Linked DNA regions of Homo sapiens: region 2 is linked to region 1. Evidence: promoter capture Hi-C in 16 types of primary human blood cells and fetal thymus (Javierre and others, 2016). All regions are on one chromosome and are shown on one strand. Each heading gives the region's core, a stretch centred on a gene start or on the middle of the fragment in contact. The rest is flanking DNA. Distances are from core to core; before and after follow the strand shown.

Region 1 (7,156 bases), core at 3,255-5,754:
TAGGCAGATCACTTGAGGTCAGGAGTTTGAGACCAGCCTGGCTAACATGTTGAAACCCTGTCTCTACTAAAAATACAAAAATTAGCCAGGCATGGTGGCACAGGCCTGTAGTCCCAGCTACTTGGGAGGCTGAGGCTGGAGGATCACTTGAATCCGGCAGGCAGAGGTTGCAGTAAGCCTCAGTGCCATTGCACTCCAGCCTGGGTGACAGAGCGAGACTCTGTCTCAACAACAACAACAAAAGAACAAGGAAGAATAAAGACTAGGTCTTTGAGGAGGGCATTTTCAGTGATATGGTGAAACAGGTATCAGAACTGCAGGGGACTGAGAAATAATGAAAGGTGAAGGTGAAGCAATGGAGTGTTCACATATAGACCACTTTTTCCATGAGGTTTGGTTGTAAAGGGGAGAGGGGAAAGAAGGTGGTAGCTGGAAGGAGAGGAGTTGTCTGGAGCTAAGGGACATCACTTTGATGGTTGCTCTTTCTTCAGTAACGGAGGTTCCTGGGAGAGCAAGCGGGGGAGGGGGGGTTGAAGAGTGGGAGATCTGGGGAGCATGCAGGATATTTGGAAGTTGATTTTGGGGGAGAGCTGGAGAGAGAGCTGCCTTGGCAAATAGGAGCGCTGAAAGGTGTTGAGGACCTAGTTGAAGTTGACAATGTATGTAGCACTGATCTGTGTGGTTGTGAGATTTTGTCCAGCAGCACTTAGAGCCAAGAAGCAGATTCAGAGAAGACAGAAGGTTGGATTCTTCCAGGATTGTAGTGCTGCCAGATGGGTGTTACTATCCTTCTAGTTATGCCAGAAAGATAACTGTGCAAGGAATATAAGTATATTGGGAAGAATGTGATGGAGGTGATAAACCCTGAACTCTCAGCTGATGGGGAAGGAAATGAAGACTCGATGGAGCTTATAAATAAAACAAAGTAGAGGGACAAATGAACTGGAAGTTTCTGCAGGCTAGAGAAACCATGAAAGGAATTCAGAGAATAGCAGAAGGACAGATGAAAGATCAGGTGTCTGCATTTATAACTTCAGAGGTGGAGCTCTTCTGTGGTCCAGGGTGTTACCCTAGGAGTGGAGGACTGAAGAGGACTGGAAGAGAAAGACTCTGGAGTTGACTGTGAACCTGGAGCCAAAGTGAACAATGATTGGAGATGAGAGCTAGGACTTTAGGTACTACATCTCACCCCTGTTGTCCAATCTACCATGGTGCCTGAACCACACCAGTTGCACCAGTCAGAGAGTGTAAGGTCCTGTTCTAAAGCACTCGCACCACAAGTTTTGAGAGCCCAATTCCCCATATTTGTTTGTTTGTTTTGTTTTGTTTTGTTTGTTTTTTGAGATGGAGTTTCGCTCTTGTAGGTCAGGCTGGAGTGCAATGGTGCGATCTCGGCTTACTGCAGCCTCCTCCTCCCAGGTTCAAGTGATTCTCCTGCCTCAGCCTCCCAAGTAGCTGGGATCACAGATGTCCACCATCACGCCCGGCTAATTTTTGTAATTTTTCAATAGAGACGGGGTTTTGCCATGTTGGACAGGCTGGTCCCTGACCTCGTGATCCACCCACCTTGGCCTCCCAAAGTGCTGGGATTATAGGTGTGAGCCACCACACCTGGCCCCAATTCCCCATATTTGAAGAGCACTTATGCTACAGGGTTTTCAATTGCCTTTACCAACCCTGAATCTCCTGGTTTTTCTCCTTCTTTGTGCCTGTTATGACCTACCCTCATTATCAGAGACTCATTGTGGGAGGGGACTACACAAGGGTATAAATCCCAGGAGGTGGTGAACCCTGGAGGCTATCTTAGACTGTATCACAATTCTCTTCAGTTTTCATTTTGTAATTTTTCTCTGGCTATGTAAGCCCCACTTCGATTTCCGCCCATATGATGCTGACTTTCAAAAGTCTATGTCCCGGCTAGGCGTGGTGGCTCACGCCTGTAATCCCAGCACTTAGGGAGGCCAAGGCGGGCAGATCACTTGAGGCCAGGATTTCGAGACCAAACTGGCCAATATGGTGAAACCCCCATCTCTACTAAAAATACAAAAATTAGCTGGGCGTGTTGGCAGATGCTTGTAATCCCAGCTACTTGGGAGGCTGAGGCAGAAGAATCACTTGAGCCTGGGAGGCGCAGGTTGCAGTGGGCCGAGATTGTGCCACTAAACTCCAACCTAGGCCACAGAGTGAGACTCAGCCTCAAAAAAAGTCTGTGTTCAGCCCAGACCTCTACATTGACCTGCAACCTGTATATGCACCTGCTGTGTTGACATCTGTATTAGTCAAGGTTCTCCAGAGAGAGAGAACCAATGTGATATCTATATATCTACAATATAGATCTATATCTATAGATATATGGGAGGGGATTTATTAGGGGAACTGGCTCACATAGTTATGGAGGCTGAGAAGTCCCACAATAGACCATCTACAAGCTGGAGAACCAGGGAGGCTGGTAGACTGCTTCAGTTCAAGACTACCCTGTCTTAGACTTGGCCTCAGAACCAGGGAAGCTGAATGGTGTATCTCCCAGTCCAAGGCCCAAGCCGGGAGAACCTGGGGAACCACTGGTACAAGTCTTGGAGTCCAAAGGCTCAATACTTGCTAAATGAATAAATGGACGGACTCTACTACCTAATCTCCTAGAGTTAGGAGATTAGGGGAACGGGGAATTCTGATGCCAAGGGCAGAAGAGGGGTGTCCCAACTCCAGAGTAGAGAATTTGCCTTTCCTCTGCCTTTTTGTTCTATTATGTGGTGCCTGCGCATATTAGATGAGGACAGATCTTCCTTACTCAGTCCATTGACTTAAATGCCAATATCTTCTGGGAACACCCTCATAGACATACCCAGAAGTAATGTTCCCCCAGCTACCTGAGTATCCCTTAACCTAGTCAGGTTGACATCTAAAACTAATCATCGCAAAATCCTAACCAAGTCTCAAAGGTGCCTCAAATTCAACTTGTCTAAGATGGAGCTCAAGATCAATCTTATCTCCTCTTCCAGTGTTCTCCATATCTGTGAATCCCTGCACCATCCATCCATTTATCCAAGGCTGAACAGTGGCATCATCCTTGAAGCTGCTTCATCGCCCCTTCACATCCAACTCATCACCAAGTCCTATTGATTTTGCTCCTACATTTCTCTGCAGCCTTCTTAGATCTCTTTTTCTTCACTCTCACCCTAGTCCACACTCCAGCTCCATTCTCTCTTGCCCAGATGACTGCACTGGCTCCCAGGCCAGTCCCACCATAGCTCTGTTGAGACTTCTCCATTTTGATCTGCACTTTAGCAGCCAAAGTGAGTTTTATAAAATGCAATTTTGACCAGTGTTCTATGGTCCTAAACTTTCCACTATGGTCCATAAAATCCTACATGGTCCTGCCCCTTCTATTCGCTCTAGTGGATCTCACTCCACTCCTTTATTCTCTAAACTCTGAGTTTCTTTTCTTTTTGTGGTAAAATGTACATAACCATTTTTAAGTGTGCAGATCTGTGGCATTTGGTACATTCACATTGTTGTGTGATCATCACTACTATCCATTTCCAGAACTGTTTCATCTTCTCCAGCTGAAATTCTGTACCTATTAAGCACTAACTTTCCATTTCCCCCTTTCTGGGTTTCTTTTCATCCCTCAAAGGAGCTCTGCTGCCTTCCACAGAGTTCTTATATACATGCTAATCTCTCCATCTGAAACACACTTCCTCTCCCCTTTGCCTAGTTAGCCTCCTGTGATTCCCAACACCAGCCTAGAAGCTTCTGTAAATTCTCCCAAAACCCCTGCTCCTCCCTGAAGAGCAGTTTGTATTTATACAGGTGTTTGATTGTTTGAAGGGTGCTCTCACCCTGCCTCCTCTCTTAACATAGTTTTTCGTGTCAGGAATTCCTCGCTTTGTCCACAACCCCTGGCACATAGCAGGTGCTCAATACTTGCTAAATGAATAAATGGACGGACTCTGCTACCTACCTAATCTCCTTCCAGCCAGTCATCCATCTGTGGGTGCCTCGGTCCCCAGCTTGGGGTGTGTCCCCCTGGGTCGGACTTTGGCGCCCCATCCAGGCTGGCAGTAGGTTGTGCTCTTTGGTTTGCCTATCTCGGGCCTCCCGCCCAGCCGCGCGGACCGCAGAACATACGCCCCGGGCGTTATCACTCTGTCACGCGGAGCCTCCCCGCCTCCAGACGTCAGTCCGGTTGCTACCCCGGCAGGAATCGAGCTTAGATCACGAAGGCTCCTTCTCACCTCCGGACGTGAGAATTACAGGCTTGGATCTCAAACCGCCGCGGTGAGAGCCGGGAGGTGGGAAGAAAGTTGGGAGGCGCGCGCCCCCGTCACACTCCCTCTCCGTTTGGGTCGCAGCCCTTTAAGAACCACTACGTTCGCGCCTTCGCCGGGACGGGGGCTGTGGAGGCGCGCCGGGATTGGTCGGTTTGGGTGCGGGTGTCGCTTAGCAGCAGCGAATGCGGGGTAGGGGGGAGGTGGGGTGGCTCAAGACTCGCGCACGCGCACCACGGCCTACCTGCGCCTGGGCTGCCGGTGACCTGGGCCGAGCCCTCCCGGTCGGCTAAGATTGCTGAGGAGGCGGCGGGTAGCTGGCAGGCGCCGACTTCCGAAGGCCGCCGTCCGGGCGAGGTGAGGGCTGGCGGGCGGAGGCGGGTGCCGCGGCCCGTTAGCCAAGAGCAGGCGGGTTAGGGTGTGGCGCAGGGCGGGCCCAGAGGTGGAGGCGGCCCAGGGCCCACCCGGCCCTCAGTCCCGGCCTTGACCATGGGGCTCCCCACGGGGCTTCACTGGGCTTCTTGGAGTCCTCTGTCCCCTTTCTCCCGTCAGCCTGTTCCCGGACCCCGGGGCCACCCAAGGCACGCGCCTGCAGGAACCCTGGGCTGACAGATGGGCGCCAAGGGCTTCTCCCAGTTGGAAGAGATGGGGAGTGAGAAAGGGGACGATTGTTTCTTTAACCATTCACGAAGCTCACGTCAGAGCATTGTTTAATCTGAATAGCAAACTTCCCTTAGCATGCCCGTGTTATTAGACTTTAAATATTGGATACACTGAACCAACTTTTCAGAGCACTAGGTGTAGGACGTTCCATTACAGGTTTTGTGTTCATTACAGATTTACACATGTACCTCCAGAGCCAGAAGGATAAAGCACTCGGGGAAAAATTAGGTTTGTAGAAATAAAAGCCACGGAAGACTATTGCCAGTGTGAAAAGTAATTGGTGAAATTTGTGACATGGTCAGAAAAAAATACAGCTCAGAACCAACATATAGGGTAATATTTAATTACATTTTGCAGAGAAGAGTTGATCCCACTAAAGATAATTTTAGTAAAATGAAAAATGGAAGCAACTGGAAATGGTTTAACGTTGCCAGATAGAATTAAATAAACAAATAGTGTTTCCTCTGGAAAGTACATTTTGGACAATGTTAATAGCTCTGATTTAAGTGTTTGCATTTGCAACAGAAGCCATCTTGGAGTCAGTGTTTTTTATTCTTAGAATAACTTAGAAATCAACTAAATTCAAAAAGTAACATGATCATAGAGAGGACAACCTGACTTCAAGGTAATACAGTGGATAAAGAGCAGTTGTAACAAGTGTAATCTCAGGCTCCTTCCTCTACCAACAGGTCTCTGATTAGCTTATTAGTGCTCTAAGGAGAAGAAATTATTTTAGAGAAAGGGAGTAGCTGTAATTCCCAAAGTTGGATTTGTAGAAGAAGGATGTGGTGGAAAGATCCTAGGCTTTAGAATATTTGAAGTAAGGAAGTCTGGGTTGAATCTAGCTTTACCTCTTGAGCCTTACAGCTGCAGTTTTCCCACCTATCCGGTATAGATTATGTCTACCTTATAGTTACAAGCATTTAATAACATTATCAGTGTAAAAGGTCCTATCAAGTTTAGTTCCCTACCCCTCTTAGTTCCTAACAAATGACGAAACTGACCTCTACCCTCCTCTTCACTCCATCCCCAAGCAACTTGGAGCCTTAATAGAATCTACAGATTTGGTAACCAGTTCTCAAGTCCTGTGGCTGAAGGTGAATTCAGTAAGGGTGGCACAACTCAGTTTTGTCTTCTGTATTGTGTATTTGAGTCTTCTGTATTCTGTATATACTTTATGGTGAACACTTTGTGTTTGAATATTTGTGTGCCAAATGAAGCCTGTTTTGTCTAAATTCCTATTTTGCAAGGTGCAGTCATCTCTCTCTTTCTCTCTGTTTTTCTCTTTCTTTCTGTCTCTCTCAGCCTCTCTCTCTCTCAGTGCATGTGGTAGGGGCTTGAGGAGGGGTTAAGGGTAAAAGGTGGAAGAAAAAACAGGATCAAGGGTAGCCTGCAGCATAGGCATAAAGTCTTTGTTAATAGAACAGAGATAATCTATGACATGAGCAGTTTATAAACAGATGCTGGGAAGAAGATTTAGGAAATAAGGGAGGCAAATTAAAATATGTTTTTATAAAACCTAGTAACACGGATGCTGTGTATTTGATTACTACTTCACTCTACTTTTAGACAAATTTCATCTGTATAAACCTTTCTCTTTTTCTCTCCAAATACAGATTTATTGTGGAAAAGTGTTCAAACTGTAGATCAGAACTATGGCAAGGGATCTGTAAACCTGCATTTCTTGTTTCAGTGAGCAAAAATAAGGCAGCCCTTAGGTCATTCATTCATTTAACTTAGCAGTGTTTACTGAGTGCTTCCTAATATGTACCAGGCAAGGTGGTAGGTTATGACATCCACTGCCTTGTGGAAGGATCTGGTAAGATCTGGAAGACATTCCAGTGTCTCTTGTATGAACATTCTGAAGCTGCCTTTGTCCTTGTGGAATTGATTTTCTTTTCTTTTCTTTTTTCTTTTCTTTTTTTTTTTTTTGTTTTTTGAGACAGGGTCTCACTTTGTTGCCCAGGCTGGAGTGCGGTGATGCAGTCGCAGCTCACGCAGCCTTGACCTCCTGAGCTCAAGTGATCCTCCCACTTCAGACTCCCAAGTAGCTGGGACCACAGGTGTGTGCCACCATGCCTGGCTTTTTTTTTTTTTTTTTGTAGAGATGGGGTGTCATTGTGTTGCCCAGGCTGGTCTCAAATTCTTGGACTCAAGCAGTCCTCCCGCCTCAGCCTCCCAAAATGCTGGGATGACAGGTATGAGCCACCATGCTCAGCCTGCTT
Region 2 (6,846 bases), core at 3,113-5,612, 570 kb after region 1:
GTAATCCCAGTACTTCGGGAGGCCAAGGCAGAAGGATCGCTTGAAGCTAAGGCAGCCTGGGCAACATAGCAAGACCTCACCTCTACAAAAAAATTTAAAAAAGAAAAGAAAATTAGCCAAGTGTGGCAGCACGCATGCTACTCAGGAAGCCAAAGCGGGAAGATGGCTTGAGTCCAGGAGTTCAAGGTTACAGTGAGCTATGATCAGGCCACTGCACTTCAGCCCAGGCAACAGAGATTCTATCTCTAAAAAAAGCACTTTTTTATTGTACCAAAACAACCAGAGGAACTGATGGACAACTTCTAAAATCCCGTGGTTCTGTATATGCATAAATGCTTTATCTCTGTAATCCTGGAGAGAGACAAAAAAAAGTGAGATCCTATATCCCTATTCTAATTAATATGCTTTTTTTTTCTTTTTCTTTTTCTTTTTTAATACTCTGTTGCCAGGCTGGAGTGCAGTAGTGCGATCTTGGCTCAATGCAACCTCCACTTCCCGGGTTCAAGCCATTCTCCTTCCTCAGCCTCCCGAGTAGCTGGGATTACAGGCGTCCACCAGCACGCCCAGCTAATTTTTGTATTTTTAATAGAGACGGGGTTTCACCATGTTGGCCAGGATGGTCTCGATCTCATGACCTCGCAATCCACCTGCCTCCACCTCCCAAAGTGCTGGGATTATAGGCGTAAGCCACCACACTCAGCCATTAATATGCATTTTAAGTGACATAAATCAACCTGCATCTATGTAACGGAAGATAGGATTTGCTAATAGTTCATCTGTATCAACATAAATTAGTAGACGGTGACATCTTTTAATCAACATAATCATGTTATCTAGTAACTAATTCTAGTCATTAAGGAGGAATGCAATAAGTGCTCTGAATAGTATGCTAAAGAGATACTTTTCGAAAATGTCAAGCCACTTAGTCCACATGTTCACAGTTATTTTCTCCTACTTCTTAAAAGAAAAAAAAGATTTTTAAAGTCACCTGAGTACCCACAGCATGGTCTTATTTAACATTCAAATGTGGATAATTTATACTGTGATGGAGCATCCTTGTCGGATGTTAGTACAAAATCCACTTCCTCTGGATAGACTATCCTCTCCTGTTGAATGTCCTGGAACTAGAGGAGACCCTAGAAATAATCCAGCTCCACGATTCCCAAACTGGGGTACATGTGCTTATGCTGGGGATTCCCCAGAACCTCAGGGAAAACAAGGTACATTTTCCTTAAGAGCACTTTTTGACTCAGACAGCAATATTTTTTTTTTTTTTTAGATGGGGTCTCGCTCTGTCACCTAGGCTAGAGTACAATGGTGCAATAATGGCTCACTGCAGCCTCAATCTCTTGGGCTCAAGAGATTCTCCCACCTCAGCCTCCCTAGTAGCTGGAACTACAGGTGCACATCACCACACCTGACTAATTTTTCTTTTGTCTTTTTTTTTTTTTTTTTTGTAACAATGAGGTCTCACTATGTTGCCCAGGCTGGTCTCGAACTCCTGGGCTCAAGTGATCCTCCCACCTCAGCATTCTAGGAAGGGCTATTCCCAGCTTCACCTGTTACATAGCAAGAACCTGTCTCTATTTAAGAAAAAAAAAGTGTTTAAGGAAGTCCAAACAGGCTGCCTACAGGCACACTGCCTATGAGTTAGCCCTGCTCTGCAAGGAACAGCACTGTAAAATAAAAATAATAAATTTTGAAAACAAAAAAATTAAGTCCAAACAAGGATTTCAAGAGCTCCCCTCCCACCCCATTCCACCCTGTTTCACCTCAGGTGCACTATTAACAATAATAATTAAATAAATTTCTCACTATAATGAATCATACTACACAGCCTTTCATAAAATGCCTATCATAGCCTTTAAGCAGCTCAACATCATTGGTATTCTGTGTAACTCAGGAGACATCCAGTTTTACACATATGCAATTATTTACTGTCTCTTCACTAAAATTTGCACTTTTCAACACTGCAAGTGGCCTCCACTTAGATACATCTAAGAAGACAAGTCAGAATAGGGAACATTTGTTTGAAAAGAAGGGGGGAAAAGGAGGTGAGAAGCCAGAAGACCCATTCATTCAACAGTGTATCTCTGTCTAACAACAGTGTATCTCTGTCCAAGAATAAAATAAAACCTAAGAACCCACATAAGCCCTTGGGTTCTATCTCCATCTTTTAAAAAGAACATCCTCTTGTCTTTCCCTACAAAAATCACAGTGCATGCCAAATATAGATGAGTTAAATAAATCTGAGTCCATTTTCTTTTGTTTTGTTTTGTTTTTGAGACAGAGTCTCACTCTGTCGCCCAGGCAGGAGTGCAATGGCACAATCTTGGCTCACTGCAACCTCCACCTCCTGGGTTCAAGCAATTCTCCTACCTCAGCCTCCCACGTCGCTGGGATTACACACGCATGCTGCCACGCCCGGCTACTTTTTTTGTGTTTTAGTAGAGACGGGGTTTCACCATGTTGCCCAGGCTGGTCTCGAACTCCTGAGCTCAGGCAATCCACCTGCCTTGGCCTCCCAAAGTGCTAGGATTACAGGTGTGAGCCACCGCAGCCAGTGGTCAGAGTCCATTTTCAAAACCAAGGGTCACAGAATCATATATGTGAAGAGGCTGGTCATGGTACTTTAAAGTTTATCAAACTTCCCGACCATACAGTATTAAGCTCTGGCATGCACAAAAGGCTTTACTGAATATCTGCAACTCTCAGTGAGTTTAAATGACTGTTCGCCCTCCAATGCCTTTCTTACTTGAGCCCCAAAGGGTAAAAAAAGAACTGTCCCTTGCAGAAAAACTGGCCACCTATCTGCTTACTCTCCTTGGCTCTCTTATGAGCTATATGGTGCTACAGAACAATCGCATCTATAAAAACTCCGACAGCTGACGGAGAGGAGAATGCCCAAGGTCTGTTCTCTACCTTGGGAGCACGAAGTCAAGATGGAGAGCCCAGATGGTTAATTCAAGAATCACCAAACAATTACAGAGGCCTACTATATACAAGGTCAGAGGCAGGGACTCAGAATGCAACGACAGGGACTGGGAGTGGTGGCTTGCGCCTATAATCCCAGCACTTTGGGAGGTCATGGCCAGCAGATCACTCGAGGTCAAGAGTTTGAGACCAGCCTGGCCAAAGTGGTGAAACCCCGTCTCTACTAAAAATACAAAAATTAGCTGGGCGTGGTGGCAGGTGCCTGCAATCCCAGCTACTCGGGAGGCTGAGGCCAAAGAATCACTTGAACCTGTGAGGTGGAGGCCGCAGTGAGCCAAGATCGCACCACTGCACTCTAGCCTCGATGACAGAGCGACACTCTGACTCAAAAAGAAAAAAAAAAACAAAAAACCAGAATGCAATGACAGGAACAAAGTCCACTTAAGATGGCAAACCTTAAGGTGTTGTTAGTTTGGAAAGTGAAAGTTTAAGAACTCCATTCAATGTGAATAGTGCTCTATTATTTTTGAAAGCCCTTTTATTTTTATGTTTTTTGTTTTTGTTTTTGTTTTTGAGATGGGGTCTTGCTCTGTCGCCCTGGCTGAAGTGCAGTGGCGGGATCTTGGCTCAATGAAACCTCTGCCTCCCGGATTCAAGCTATTCTCCTGACTCACCCTCCTTAGTAGCTGGGATTACAGGTGCCCATCATCATGCCCAGCTAATTTTTGTATTTTTAGTAGAGACGGGGTTTCACCATGTTGGCCAGGCTGGTCTCGAACTCCTGACCTTAAGTGATCCACCTGCCTCAGCCTCCCAAAATGCTGGGAATACACGCACAAGTCACCATGCCCGGCCCAAAGCTCTTTTATATTACCTGATTTGACCCTCATAATAAACCTATAAAACAATAATTACTATTATATGCTTTATTATCCCTGTTGGGGCTCAAAAAGCTTACCAAATTACAAACCCAATCATGTTGGAAGGAGACCTGAAAACGCTCCCATGTCATTCAGTCAAACTTTTACAGACACCTCCATTTAAAACATTGTCTCCCAGAGAGGGGAGAGCAGGACAGAGAGGTTAAGTAAGGTCACACAGCCAATAGAGAGGAGTTGGAATTTCAGTCCAGGTTTCCCACTCCAAGACCACAGAGAAGGAGAAGCAACACAGCCAGAGTGGAGACACCCTCAAGCGAGCGCTGGGGATGGGAAACTGGTCCCTGGGGCATCAAACAGGAAACGGCTGGTGCTGGGGCCAAGCTGAAACCCAACTGTTGCCAAACTCGCAGCCCTGAGACAAGGGCTTTAAACCGATTCAGCATCCCCCAGAGCCGGGCTCAGCTTTCCAGCTGGCTTAGGCTACACTGGGCTGGGAACCTCTGTGACAAAGCTGAGGTCCAAGATCAAAGAGCAACCGAGTATGACCATTCCAAACCGAGAGACAGAGGGGAAGGCGCCATCTGTCACTCCAGGTCCAACTCTCCAAACCTACCAGTCAAGCTCCCAGCCTGTTGTCCCTTCACTCAATCTGGGGAGACCCTCCCCAGTGCAGACTGGCTCCAGGGCTAATCAGAGCTTAGTCTGAGCACCTTCCTCTTCGCTGCTCTTGTAGTTGGAAATTGGAAAGGACCCTGGAACTAGACCGTTTCCCTATGGTAACCTCCACTCTCCTTCCAGATAAACAAAAGACCCTCCAGAAAAGGTTACCAGTCCCGAATACACACTCACAGACAGTATTGACAACGTTTACACTTTTGAAGCAAATAAAGTTCCAGTGAAGCATATCAGAAAAAAAAAAAAATCAGCGGTCCAACGACGAATACTCTGAAGGCTCTCAAAGCGGACGCTAATTTCAGTGTCTGAACAAGTGCAGCCACGGGTTCTAAAACAGGCAAGCTTAAAGCGGAAGGGGCACCCAGCACCAGCCTCAAGAGCAGGCCGACTTTTAACATCTTTCCTGAAACACAACTTTACAAAAGAAGAAACGATACAGTTCATTACATTTGTTTTTACCTGCAAGAGCTTGACCTTGGAGACTAGAAAAGAACTTTAAAAATCAGGTCAAGAAAGTGACAAAGTAAACTTGTTAACTCTCAAGGATGCAAAGGAGGGCTCTAAAGGCTCTCTGCTCTCTGACACGCTCAGATGATGTCATTTTCATCAAGTTTTGCGGGTGAGTGGGAATCGGGGTGCTGCCCGCGCTCAGCTCCAGGCTCTTTGAAGGTCGCCTCACTGTCACCTCGGAGTGCCGGAGCGCGGAATCCAGGCCACGCGGCGTGGCCGACACGATGCCCTAGGGGCACTTTTCCGGGCTCCGAGGGCCTCCTGCAGGTGCGGCCGGTGCATTAGGAGGGCTGTCCCCGCAGGGTCCCGGCGCCCGGCCTCTCACGCCGCCACTATCTCACGCGGACACTCCCAGAACACCCGTGTCCTTCCCCAGCCCCTGGGCCCGAGGCGCAGGCGGCGCGGGTGAGCGGACCCCTGGCTTACCCGCAAGAGGTGCACGGAGCGCAACCCGGCAGCAGGCGCGGTGCCGGGGGGCCTCGGTGGGGGCTTCCTCCGCGTCGTTCTCGGCCCGGCCCCGGCCGCCCGGCGGCTTCGGTTCCCTCCGCTGCAGCCGGCCGGGCGGCACGGGGGCACTCGCGGGGGCTCCGCTCTGGCGCCGCCGCCTCCTGCTGCCCGCCTGCCGCTCTGGCGCTCCTGGGCTCGGAGTCCGGGGTTCCGAGACGCGGGGGTCGTCGGGGCGTTCGAGACTCTCGGGGACGCTAAGGCTGCGCTCCGGCTCTCCCGCGCGCGGCCCCACTCTGGGGGACGCCTCGCTTGAGGCGCGCGGGCGTCAAGGGCTCGGGGCGCGCGGGGGCGGCGGCCGGGTGGGCCCCGGGGCGGCGGGCGGGGGCGCTGCTGCGGACGCGGGCACTGTTGCGGGCGCCGCCGCGCGGCCTCTCGCCATGGCTCCCCCGCGAGCGGGCGGCTTGCACCTCCCCTCCGCGCTGCCGTCACCGCCCGACGCGCGCCGAGCCCTCCCCCTTCCCAGCCCCGCCCGCCGCCCCGCGCCGCCACCTGCGGGCCGCCCTCCAGGATGCCCGCCGGCCACGTCCTAGTCGCCTGGAGCCGCGCCCCGCCTTCCTCGCCCGCGGCTGCCCCTGCACTTTTACCCACGCCGTGGGGCACAGAGAAGTATCCGGTAAAGACCTGGATCCGGAAAAGCTGATCACATCCCTCCCCGAGCGCTTATTTACTTCTAGCACTTCTCGGGGTCCTTCCAGAGTCAGTCTAAGAGAAGGATGGGACCCCCGCGGCCCGGGGCGCTGATTGTCGTGAACACAGTGGAAGTCCAGGCGTTCTGTTCCTGCAGGGCGGGCTGTCTCCTAGCAAAGCCGCCCTTAGGCTTAAATGGAGGGAGGATGGAGCCGGGGACGGGGGGAAGGCTGGAGGGGATGGAACTGGCTGTTGGACTAAGATGCCACCAAAGGGTGACAGGCAGGGGGCTGGCGGACAGCAGAGAGGGGATCAGGAACCGATCCAGGAAGTAAGAGCTCACAGGCCACTCTATTATGCAAATCACTTGTGGACGGTTTAACAGGGAACAACCCACATGATCTCATTTCCAGTTGAGGCTACTGAGTCTACTTCTTTTCAACCCAGGGGTCATAGAGGACATTGGGAGGACTTGAAGAAGACTCAGACCAGAACCAAAGGTGTAAGGAAACTAAACCCTGCAAAACCTGATTTCTCATACTGGCATAGACTTGACTTGAAGAGATCATCAAGTGTATAGTGAAGATTGGCTCAGGCAAGAATCATCCATGAATGCTTACTCTAGGGGGCTGTTACTGGCTGGCAGATATTTGTCTGGGTTGATGTGTCTCCCCATAGATGGTTTAGACCTGTTAGTAGCAAAAGCGGAAAT

The links. The method cuts DNA at HindIII sites, captures the fragments that hold promoters and counts their contacts. A CHiCAGO score of 5 or more calls a contact.
Region 2: a fragment that was not itself captured here is called in contact with the fragment with the promoter of SEC22C in region 1 in 1 of 17 cell types (fetal thymus); the score reaches 5.3 in fetal thymus.

Annotation. Positions count from the first base shown.
Region 1 is chr3:42,579,315-42,586,470 of GRCh38, reverse strand. SEC22C (SEC22 homolog C, vesicle trafficking protein) reads left to right here and starts at 4,504. Exons shown (of 7, transcript NM_032970.4): 1 at 4,504-4,625. It also overlaps a transcript of SS18L2 not described here. RefSeq lists enhancers at 4,089-4,218, 4,211-5,037 and a silencer at 4,419-4,748. The HindIII fragment of the contact is 16,658 bases long and covers 3,753-7,156 here.
Region 2 is chr3:42,012,698-42,019,543 of GRCh38, reverse strand. It overlaps LOC107986077 (a long non-coding RNA gene), which reads left to right and starts at 5,975. Exons shown (of 2, transcript XR_001740668.2): 1 at 5,975-6,120; 2 at 6,582-6,846. It also overlaps a transcript of TRAK1 not described here. RefSeq lists enhancers at 4,208-4,709, 5,103-5,242, 6,223-6,292 and silencers at 5,433-5,502, 5,563-5,722, 5,763-5,832, 5,923-6,042. The HindIII fragment of the contact is 945 bases long and covers 3,890-4,834 here.